Regions from separate parts of the Homo sapiens genome. Here all the other regions are linked to region 3. The links are contacts of gene promoters, found by promoter capture Hi-C in human tissues and cell types (Jung and others, 2019). All regions are on one chromosome and are shown on one strand. The core of a region is centred on a gene start or on the middle of the fragment in contact, and the rest is flanking DNA. Distances in the headings are between cores, read along the strand shown. Region 1 overlaps MARK2 (microtubule affinity regulating kinase 2). Region 2 overlaps MARK2 (microtubule affinity regulating kinase 2). Region 3 holds the start of FERMT3 (FERM domain containing kindlin 3).

Region 1 (3,035 bases), core at 477-2,976, 320 kb before region 3:
TAAAAATATAAAAAAATTAGCTGAGTGTGGTGGCGGGCGCCTGTAATCCCAGCTACTCGGGAGGCTGAGGCAGGAGAGTTACTTGAACCCGGGAAGCAGAGGTTGCGGTGAGCCGAGATTGCGCCACTGCACTCCAACCTGGGCAACAGAGTGAGACTCTATCTCAAAAAAAAAAAAAAAGAGACGAGAGTCTAATTCTGTCACCCAAGCTGGAGTGCAGTGGCACGATCATAGCTCACTGTTACCTCCACCTCCTGGACTGAAACGATTATCCTGCCTTAGCCTCCCGAGTAGCTGAGACTACAGACCCATGGCACCATGCCTGGCTAATTTTTGAATTTGGAGAGAGAGGGTCTCACTCTGTTGCCCAGGCTTGTCTCGAATTCCCAGGCGCAAGTCGTCTTCCCACCTTGGCCTCCCAAAGTGCTGGGATTAAGGCATGAGCAACAGTGCTCAGCCCCGTGTGGCTTTTTTTTTTTGAGACAGAGTCTCACTCTGTTGCCCAGGCTGGAGTGCAGTGGTGCAATCTCTGCTCACTGCAACCTCCACCTCCCAGGCTCAAGCAGTTCTCATGCCTCAGCCTCCGAGTAGCTGGGATTACAGGTGTACGCCACCACGCTCAGCAAATTTTTGTATTTTTAGTGGAGATGGGGTTTCGCCATGTTGCTTAGGCTGGTCTCGAACTCCTGACCTCAAGTGATCCACCAGCCTCGGCCTCTCAAAGTGCTGGGATTACATGGTGGGGGCCACCATGCTTGGCCCCCATGTGGCTTTTAATCTAAATCCTACCCTATCTCTTCCCAGCTTTTCTGTTTGTAGTCAGTGCTTTGTATTTCCTCAGTTTACAAAATCCCTTACTGTCTCCCACAAATAGGATTGAGGAAACAGTCCTTCTGTCACATTGCAAAGCCCTAGAAAAATGAAGGGACTAGAAAAATGAAGCTGTTTGATCCTGCTCTGGTTCTCAGTCTACCAGTGAGTGAAGGGCCGGAGGGCCCGGGCAAGCTTGAGCCCAGGATCCAGTGGGCCCACTGAAGTCAGGGCCCACTTTTGGGGGGCTGGGAAAAGGAAGGGTTGCTGTGGGACCACTGGGATAGGCCTTTAAACAGCACTTCACCATTGGCCTGAATCAAACATTGTCATTCCCAGTGTCCCGAGCACCTTCCCTGAGTCTTCATACCTTCTGCCTCCTAGCTTATGGAGGAGGAGCCAGGGGCTTATCTTTTGGGGGAAATGAGAGCACGATTAGGCATCAAGAAGGGTTGATGAGAAACTGGTAAGGGGGACTGTCAAGAACAGCAGAGTGCTGAAATGGTGACAAAAGCTCTGGGCTCCGGCCCCAGCTCTGTACTGAGAAGCTGTGAGATTTTGGGCAAGTCTCATAACCTCTGAATGCCAATTTCTCAATGGAAAACAGGGAGACTACCTACCCTATAGGTCTGTGTTTGGAGAAAACAAAGTGTAAGCGCTGGACATACAGTAGCATCAGAAATGCTGAATCCGTTGGCCAGGGCTCATGTGTAAGGCAAACATTTCTTGGCCACTCCTGAGTAGCATGGTCTTGCAGGAATATATGCTTAAGTGCTGTGAGAGCACAGAGGAAGCTTTGCCCTTCCCTAGAGGGTTAATGGCTACCAACGTGAGAAGGTCACGGAGTTCCTTAATGAGAGGGAGCCTAGCCTAGAATAGGGGATGAATGAGAAATTGTTCTGAGAACCAGAGGCAAGGCTGCAACCAGCACATAGACAGGGGTCGTTGGTCTAGAAGGGGAGTCTTCTCCAGATGAGAGACAGCCAGCTTGCCCTGTGCTCACCATGTGCCCAGATAGTGGGGGCTTAGCAGGAGGAAGGTGTGAGGAATCCCAGGCCTTTGGAATTCCTTGAGAAAGCAGTGTTGTTTTGAAGGTAAGGCAGGGGATTGGTGACTGGAAACTTGGAGGTGAGTGAGAACCTAGGGATGAACGTTCAGAAGCAGGGCTGGAAGGAACTTAAAAGGGACATTTGGATTGTTTCTAGCTTTTGGGCAAAATCTAGGATTAAATATGATTTTTTCATTGATAGAATGCTCTATCAGTGATAAAGGCTCTTAATCTAGAAAACATACACCTCATAGGGGGCTTTACAGAGTCCCCAAACTCCCTGAAATTATGCTCAAAATATTTTGTGTCTAAGTGGAATGTGCATGTTTCCAAGGTTAAGCACTGCTTTTTTAGGAAGTAGGAGGTCCGTCCGCCACTGTCAGCTTGCTGGTTTCTGCTTACCCTCCTCCCCACTTCGTTCTTGAGGGGGTGGTTTGCTGGTCTTTGGCAGGGCCGCCACTCTGGGTCAGCACATCTGAGTCACACATGTTCCTCCCCAGCCCTATTGGAGGCTTTGTTAAAGTCATCTGCCCCTACCCAGGTCCCACCTGCCACAGGTGAGCTAGGGTTTTATGACAGCCGTGGCTGCAGTGAGTCTCCTCGACCTCTCGCCAGCTGTTACCCAGCAAAGCACCTTGGGGAGGGTGGGGCTGCCCACTTCCGGGGAGGGGGGGAGGGGGAGGGGAGAAGGAAGTTGATCTAAACCCGCCTCTTTCTCTGTCTCCCTTCCTGCCCTATTCCCCTCCTGCCCCTTCCCTCCCACCTTGCTTCTGGTGTGCTGTCCTGGAATTGCACGCGCTTCCTGACCACCAGGCTCTGGCCCTTGAGAAGCCAGCGGGGCTTTGTCCCTGTTGCTCTCCTTGCCAAACCCAGTCTCTCTGCTAGTGGTGGTTTCGGTTGCGACACCGTCCAGGTTCCCAGGCAGGAACCGCTCGGCCTGGCTGCTTAGCTACTTTTCACTGAGGAGGTGGTGGAAGGTGTCGCCTGCTCTGGCTGAGTAAGGGTGGCTGGCTGAGCCGGCAGCCCCCGCCCTAGGCCTGGCTCTTCCCGGCCTCTGTACTTTGCCCTCGCTGCCTGACAGGTTCTGCTGTGGGCTCTGCTGAATGGAAGTCGCTGGTAGTCCTTTTCCCTTTCTCCAGTCGGGTATGTTGTCCCCCTTTTTACTCTAGGATTGCCT
Region 2 (2,977 bases), core at 8-2,507, 340 kb before region 3:
CATGTGGTCTGTCAGAAGGCTGGAGTTATTTATAGTGGGAGAAAAGCCCAGGAGCATGGCACGGGAAGAACTGATTTCACACCAGCTCAGCGCCTGATGATGGTGAGGACCCAGATTTTCCTTTGAGCATCTCAGAGCAGATCAGTCGCTTTTCCTGATTGACCCATGAACTGTGAGACTAGGGACCATGTTTTCCGAGGCCACTGTGAGTGAGGGAAGAGTGAGAAGGATGACCATTTTCTTCTTCCTTGATTCTGGTCTTTGTGATGTGTGGTATGAAAGTGTCATCTGACTTTTGAATCTCCTTTTATTGAACTGGTGAAGAAGGCACCAGCTGTGTGGGGTGGTGGAAATAAGGACCTGTTAAACTGGTCTGCCTGTATCTGCCTCCCTGCTCCCCCCTCACCCCACCCACCCCCACCCTGGGCAGGGAGGCTGAAACTGCTGCTTGCTAGGCTTTGCCAACTCAGTTTCTCTTCATGGATTACCTGCTCGCGGCAGGCAGGCAGGCAGCTCCCCACCTGGAAGCCTGCAGACTCGCCGAGCTGAGAGAATCATGCTGCAGGTGGGGGCAAGTGCTAGGAACTAGGTGTGCCACTTACCTTAACAGGAGCTGTGCCTAGTCCGGGCTGCTCAAACTAAGGCTGCAGAGCCCTGGGGCCTGTTGGAAATAGACTGTGCCTTTCCCTGCGCCTTGTGGCCACATTTTTATGGTATGTGGAGAGTCTGGGAGGGGCCGGGAGCTTGTAAATTGTGAGTAAATGAAGTCTAGGGAGGGAGATGATCCTTCTTGAGGGCACCCTGAGTTCAGGGTTGTCATGTTTCTGAGGTGTGCTACTGCTTAGTACCCTGATTTCTGGAGTTGTCTACCTAGGTTGCTTTTAATTTTTTCAGCCTTAGGTGGAAGAGATTTTCCATCTTGGTGTTTAGGCATGTTAGGTGAGGTTTACTTCCGGAGCCAGACTTTTAGGCAGGTTGTCTTGACATAAGTCAAGGTCAGGAAGCGATCTTCAGGACATGCAGACGATGCCCACTTCCTGCTGTGGTCTTGAAGAGGGCTGGAAGGCTTGTGAGCACAGAGGCACTGAGGGCTGTCGCATCCATACAGGAAGACACTCAGGGCTCGTCTCCGGTGCCTCATTTTATAAGCATGGAAACAAAAGTCCCAGGAGGGTGAATGACTTGCCCAAGGTGACATAAATTGTTTGCGCAGAGCTGGGTCTAGAATGGATCTTATGCCCTTGGCAGCGTGCCCCCATTGCCATCACTTCAGAGGGGCTGGCTGCAGCCCTCAACGGCAGAAGGCAAGCTGGGAAAGGACAAGTGGAAGGGTAGCAGGCCCCAATTCTGCACACTGGAGAGCACCTCTGAAATCCTGCCGGAGACTATGCCCATAGAGGTGCCAGAGGCCCTAGGGAATGATGATTTATTTTGTATTTTGTATTTTTGTGGAGACAGGGTCTTACAATATTGCCCAGGCTGGTCTCAAATCCTAGGCTCAAGTGATCCTCCCACCTGGGTTCCCAGAGTGTTGGGATTGCAGACATGAGCCGTGGCGCCCGGCTGGGAATGATTTAAAAGTCGGCACCAGCATTCTAGCCCTGACCCAGGCTAAAAGGGGTCACATGGAGCAGAGCTGTGCAAAGAGCTTTTGGGTGAGGAGTCACTCCGAGAAAAGCGAGAAGACTCTGACCCCGAGACTTCCCGTGGTGAGTTAGGAAAGCATTTCTGGAGAGCCTGTTAGGTGCCAGGCACTGTGGCTGGGCACTGAAGACACGAAGTGATTTAGTCTTGGAAATTCCCTTATGCTGCTCTCAGTCTGTGTAATAGTGAACAAGACAGCCAACAAGAGTTGTGAAGGAGGCCGTTCAGCAAGCAATGAAGTGCTAGTGCAGGAAGGCCCGAGCTGGGAAATGTCCGGAGAGACCCTGTGAAGTGATGCAGGGATCAGGAAAGCTTCCTGGTGGAAGCAATGTCTGAGCTGAGGCTCACCACAAAGAGGAATGGGAGTGACTGCTAGAGGGAAAGTGTTCCAGGCAGTGGAAAGCTGTGGCCAAGACCTGGGGGGGTCTGAGAGGCCATTGTACATTTGAAGACAGGTGGCTGGAACCCAGAGTGAGACTCTAGGAAGGGAAGAGAGTTAGTCTGGAGCTGCAGGCAGGGAAGGGGAGACAGCCAGCTCATAATACAGTGTGGGCAAAAATCCAGAAACCATGTGGATCTAATTTGATATCAATTTTACATGTATATGTGTATATACCTACACACACATACATAAAATCAGTTATGTTTGTGTGTGTGTATATGCATATTTGTGTGTGTGTGTACGTGCGTGCATACAGAAAGTTGTTTTTTTAAGGCATGCTTTAAATACGAAGCCATCACTTCCTTTTCCCAGTCCTGGGTGCCTTTTGAGATGAGTGTTGGTGCTCCCCCCACCGCCATGTGCCATCTTCTGGAGTAAGAGGGAGTGCTTTCACTGTGTGCAGGTGTGGCTAAAGAGTATTCACTGTGTGCAGGTGTGGGTGAAGAGTATTCACCGTGTGCAGGTGTGGCTGAAGAGTATTCACCGTGTGCAGGTGTGGCTGAAGAGTATTCACCGTGTGCAGGTGTGGCTGAAGAGTATTCACCGTGTGCAGGTGTGGGTGAAGAGTATTCACCGTGTGCAGGTGTGGCTGAAGAGTATTCACTGTGTGCAGGTGTGGCTGAAGAGTATTCACTGTGTGCAGGTGTGGGTGAAGAGTATTCACTGTGTGCAGGTGTGGGTGAAGAGTATTCACTGTGTGCACGTGTGGCTGAAGAGTATTCACTGTGTGCAGGTGTGGGTGAAGAGTATTCACTGTGTGCAGGTGTGGGTGAAGAGTATTCACTGTGTGCAGGTGTGGGTGAAGAGTATTCACAGTGTGCAGGTGTGGGTGAAGAGTATTCACTGTGTGCAGGTGTGGGTGAAGAGTATTCACTGTGTGCAGGTGTGGGT
Region 3 (2,980 bases), core at 396-2,895:
AGCTAATTATTATATTTTAGTGGAGACAGGTGTTTCGCCATATTGGCCAGGCTAGTCTCGAACTCCTGACCTCAAGTGATCCACCCGCCTCAACCTCCCAAAGTGCTGGGATTACAGGCATGAGCCACTGCACCCCACTGGGTGATGGGTTTTTTTTGTTTGTATTTTTTGAGATGGTGTCTCTCTCTGTCGCCCAGGCTGGAGTGCAGTGGCGTGATCCAGCTCACTGCAAGCTCTGCCTCCCGGGTTCACGCCATTCTCCTGCCTCAGTCTCCCGAGTAGCTGGGACTACAGGCGCCCGCCACCACGCCCGGCTAATTTTTTGTTTGTTTGTTTGTTTGTATTTTTAGTAGAGACGGGGTTTCACCGTGTTAGCCAGGATGGTCTCAATCTCCTGACCTCGTGATCCACCCGCCTGGACTTCCCAAAGTGCTGGGGTTAACAGGCGTGAGCCACCGCGCCCGGCCTGGGTGATGGTTTTAATGCACGGCTCTTACCTGAGAACTTAGGGTGCTAAGCTTTAATTACACTTTTCCATGGTTGCAACAAGCTGCGTTTTCTAAAGCTCTCTTCCTGGACTGGGGAGGCCTTTGGGGCAGGAGTAAAACTTCCTCATTTGCTCCAAGAGTGCTGCTTTCTGGGCTAGGAAGGCGCTGAGACTAGCAGCTGGCTGGACTTCCTGCTGTTAGTTTCATCAGCTTTCTTTTCCCCTGGGAATCCCCGGCAGGCCGCCCCCTTCCCCATCTGAGTGGCGATGCTCAGGTAGCCTCCCCCATTGGCAGGACTCTGCCGCCCCCAGGCTTGCCCACCCTGCATGCTCCAACCCCAGTGTGTTCACTGGAAAGGCCGCTGTCCTGCGCAGAGCTGGTGGCGGACGTGCCTTGCTCTACTGAAGTCCACATCCTAGGGCAGGTGATGAGCAGGAGGGTATAGACCACCAGAGACCCCTGAGGTGTCACCTAAGCAGGGACTTGATGGGAGTGAGCCTCGTGGGGACTCGGGGAGGCTCATCCAAGTGGAGCACAGTGGAGGGGTCGTGTTTGGAGCTGGGTGACCTGAGGGCCCGGGAGGTTGTGGATGGTCTGGGCCAAGTACTGTTCACTTGTTCACCTGGCAGGTCTGAGTTCATGAGTTTGAAGGTAGCCCTACGCGGAGCTAGGAAAAACTGCAAAATGGACTTGTTTCCCTCTGGGGCCTTGAGGGATCCTTGGTTGATAGGGATAGCCAGGCTGGAGCCGATTTAACCTGTGAGTCCCAAATAACCTGGATACACTCTGTCGACTCCTGGGCTCTCCCTCCGGCAGCCCAGTGATGTTTCAAAGCCCAAGGTCCCCACCTCATGTGACAGGCTGAGGATGGCAGACACTTCCCACAAAAGTGGACCTAGCCCTGAACACACACAGCCGGGGGACTTGTTGAGTTTGCACTGAGCTTCCCTCCAAATGAGGAAGGGGGCGTTTTTATGGTGTTGAGTCGCTAAGCCCCGCTCTCCCTAGCTTCCTGTGCTCTCTGGGGACAAAGGTGGGGGGGCCCCTGGAACCCTCTGTGGGCTGGCAGTGTGCTTCCTGCACCCAGCGCCAGCCCGCCCTGGGGAGGGGCTGAACCCGCCCTGCTCGTGATAAGGCACAAGCAAGGGCTGCCCTGAAGGAAGCTCCAAAGAGAAAGGAGGGCAGGAAGCCCACGGCCCACAGGGGTGTAGCCCGAGACCCACCTGCAGCCCCCAGCCCTTGCCAGGAAAGGTAAGCTCAGGCCTCACTGGGACCCTGGGCCCTTCTCTTCCTTATCCTCCTGCAGCCTCTGCCCAGCCTGCCTCTCGCCATGCGGCAGCCTGAACTTTCCACCTCCCCGGAGAGGCTTTGGCTGGTTTGTGATGTTGGCATCTGAGCTGTGGGCCAGGATCGGAACTACTTCCTGGCCTGGGTACGAAGCCATGGCCAGAGTGGGCAGCTGCCCCTGAGGGTCTGGGAGTGAGCTGTGGGCTGGCATTGAGCACGGTGGTCCTGAGTGAGCCCCTTCTTACCCGGCCTCAGTCTGCCCGCCTGTAGGATGGGAGCGGATTGGACTACATGGTCTCTGAGGGCCCTCGCGGCTCAAGCGCCAGCGCTGGAGAGAGAGTCTGAGGGTACCACGGGCGTGCTGGCCTGGGTGCTCACTCCCGCCCTCCTTCATGAGCGGCTTTCCTCTGGGTGTGTCCAGGGCATCACAGAGCTCTTCTGCCCAAACCCGGAGGCCTACCAGGGCCTGCCCACCTTGCCTCCTTCCACACTCTCTGTAGCAGCAGCCGCAGCCATGGCGGGGATGAAGACAGCCTCCGGGGACTACATCGACTCGTCATGGGAGCTGCGGGTGTTTGTGGGAGAGGAGGACCCAGAGGCCGAGTCGGTCACCCTGCGGGTCACTGGGGAGTCGCACATCGGCGGGGTGCTCCTGAAGATTGTGGAGCAGATCAGTGAGTGTCCGCTGCCCGCTTGCTGAACTCGGCACCATGGGCGGCCGCCACGGGTGTCTCTGGGCACTTCCGGGCCATCCCTGCTGCTCAGCTCCCGATAATGGTGTCACGGTGACTCAGGCATTAGCTTAATCATTTGGTTCCAAAAAAGACATTTCCCCAACTTCCTCTCCCTCCCACCCTCTTCCCTCCCTCCCTTCTGCTGCAGCTGGTCTGCTAAGGATCAGACGCAGCCACAATCCTCCATTCAGCCACCAATAGGGGCAGAAGGAGTGGTCTTGTCTGGGCCGAGGCTGAAGTCACATTGCTGAGGTCTGAGGGGGTCTAGGTGACCCAGGGGCCTGCCCCCACGCTCCCTCCCCTTGGCGGAAGCTTTGAGCAGGTTGGTGACAGGCCCAGCCTGGGTGGGAAGGCCCTGCCCCCACAGGAAGTTACAGCAGAGCAGCTGTGGTATCAGTCATGGAGGACCACGGGGCTAGTGACACGGGGGCTCCTCATCTTCCTTCCCTGCCGGGGGTGGGGGCTACCCCT

What was found. The method cuts DNA at HindIII sites, captures the fragments that hold promoters and counts their contacts. A contact is called where the count stands out against the background at its distance.
Region 1: a fragment that was not itself captured here is called in contact with the fragment with the promoter of FERMT3 in region 3 in 1 of the 25 tissues and cell types used here (dorsolateral prefrontal cortex).
Region 2: a fragment that was not itself captured here is called in contact with the fragment with the promoter of FERMT3 in region 3 in 1 of the 25 tissues and cell types used here (dorsolateral prefrontal cortex).

Annotation. Positions count from the first base shown.
Region 1 is chr11:63,885,964-63,888,998 of GRCh38, forward strand. The region is part of intron 1 of MARK2 (microtubule affinity regulating kinase 2); the gene reads left to right. Among named protein-coding and RNA genes, the nearest start is that of RCOR2, 30 kb to the right of the region's middle. RefSeq lists an enhancer at 2,554-2,663. The HindIII fragment of the contact is 3,056 bases long and covers 199-3,035 here.
Region 2 is chr11:63,868,808-63,871,784 of GRCh38, forward strand. All of the region lies in intron 1 of MARK2 (microtubule affinity regulating kinase 2), which reads left to right. Among named protein-coding and RNA genes, the nearest start is that of MARK2, 31 kb to the left of the region's middle. RefSeq lists an enhancer at 920-1,139. The HindIII fragment of the contact is 6,472 bases long and covers 1-2,977 here.
Region 3 is chr11:64,205,076-64,208,055 of GRCh38, forward strand. It overlaps FERMT3 (FERM domain containing kindlin 3), which reads left to right and starts at 1,646. Exons shown (of 15, transcript NM_031471.6): 1 at 1,646-1,739; 2 at 2,276-2,449. The coding sequence starts at 2,290. RefSeq lists enhancers at 255-817, 655-914, 818-1,380, 1,815-1,894, 2,215-2,294. The HindIII fragment of the contact is 1,553 bases long and covers 117-1,669 here.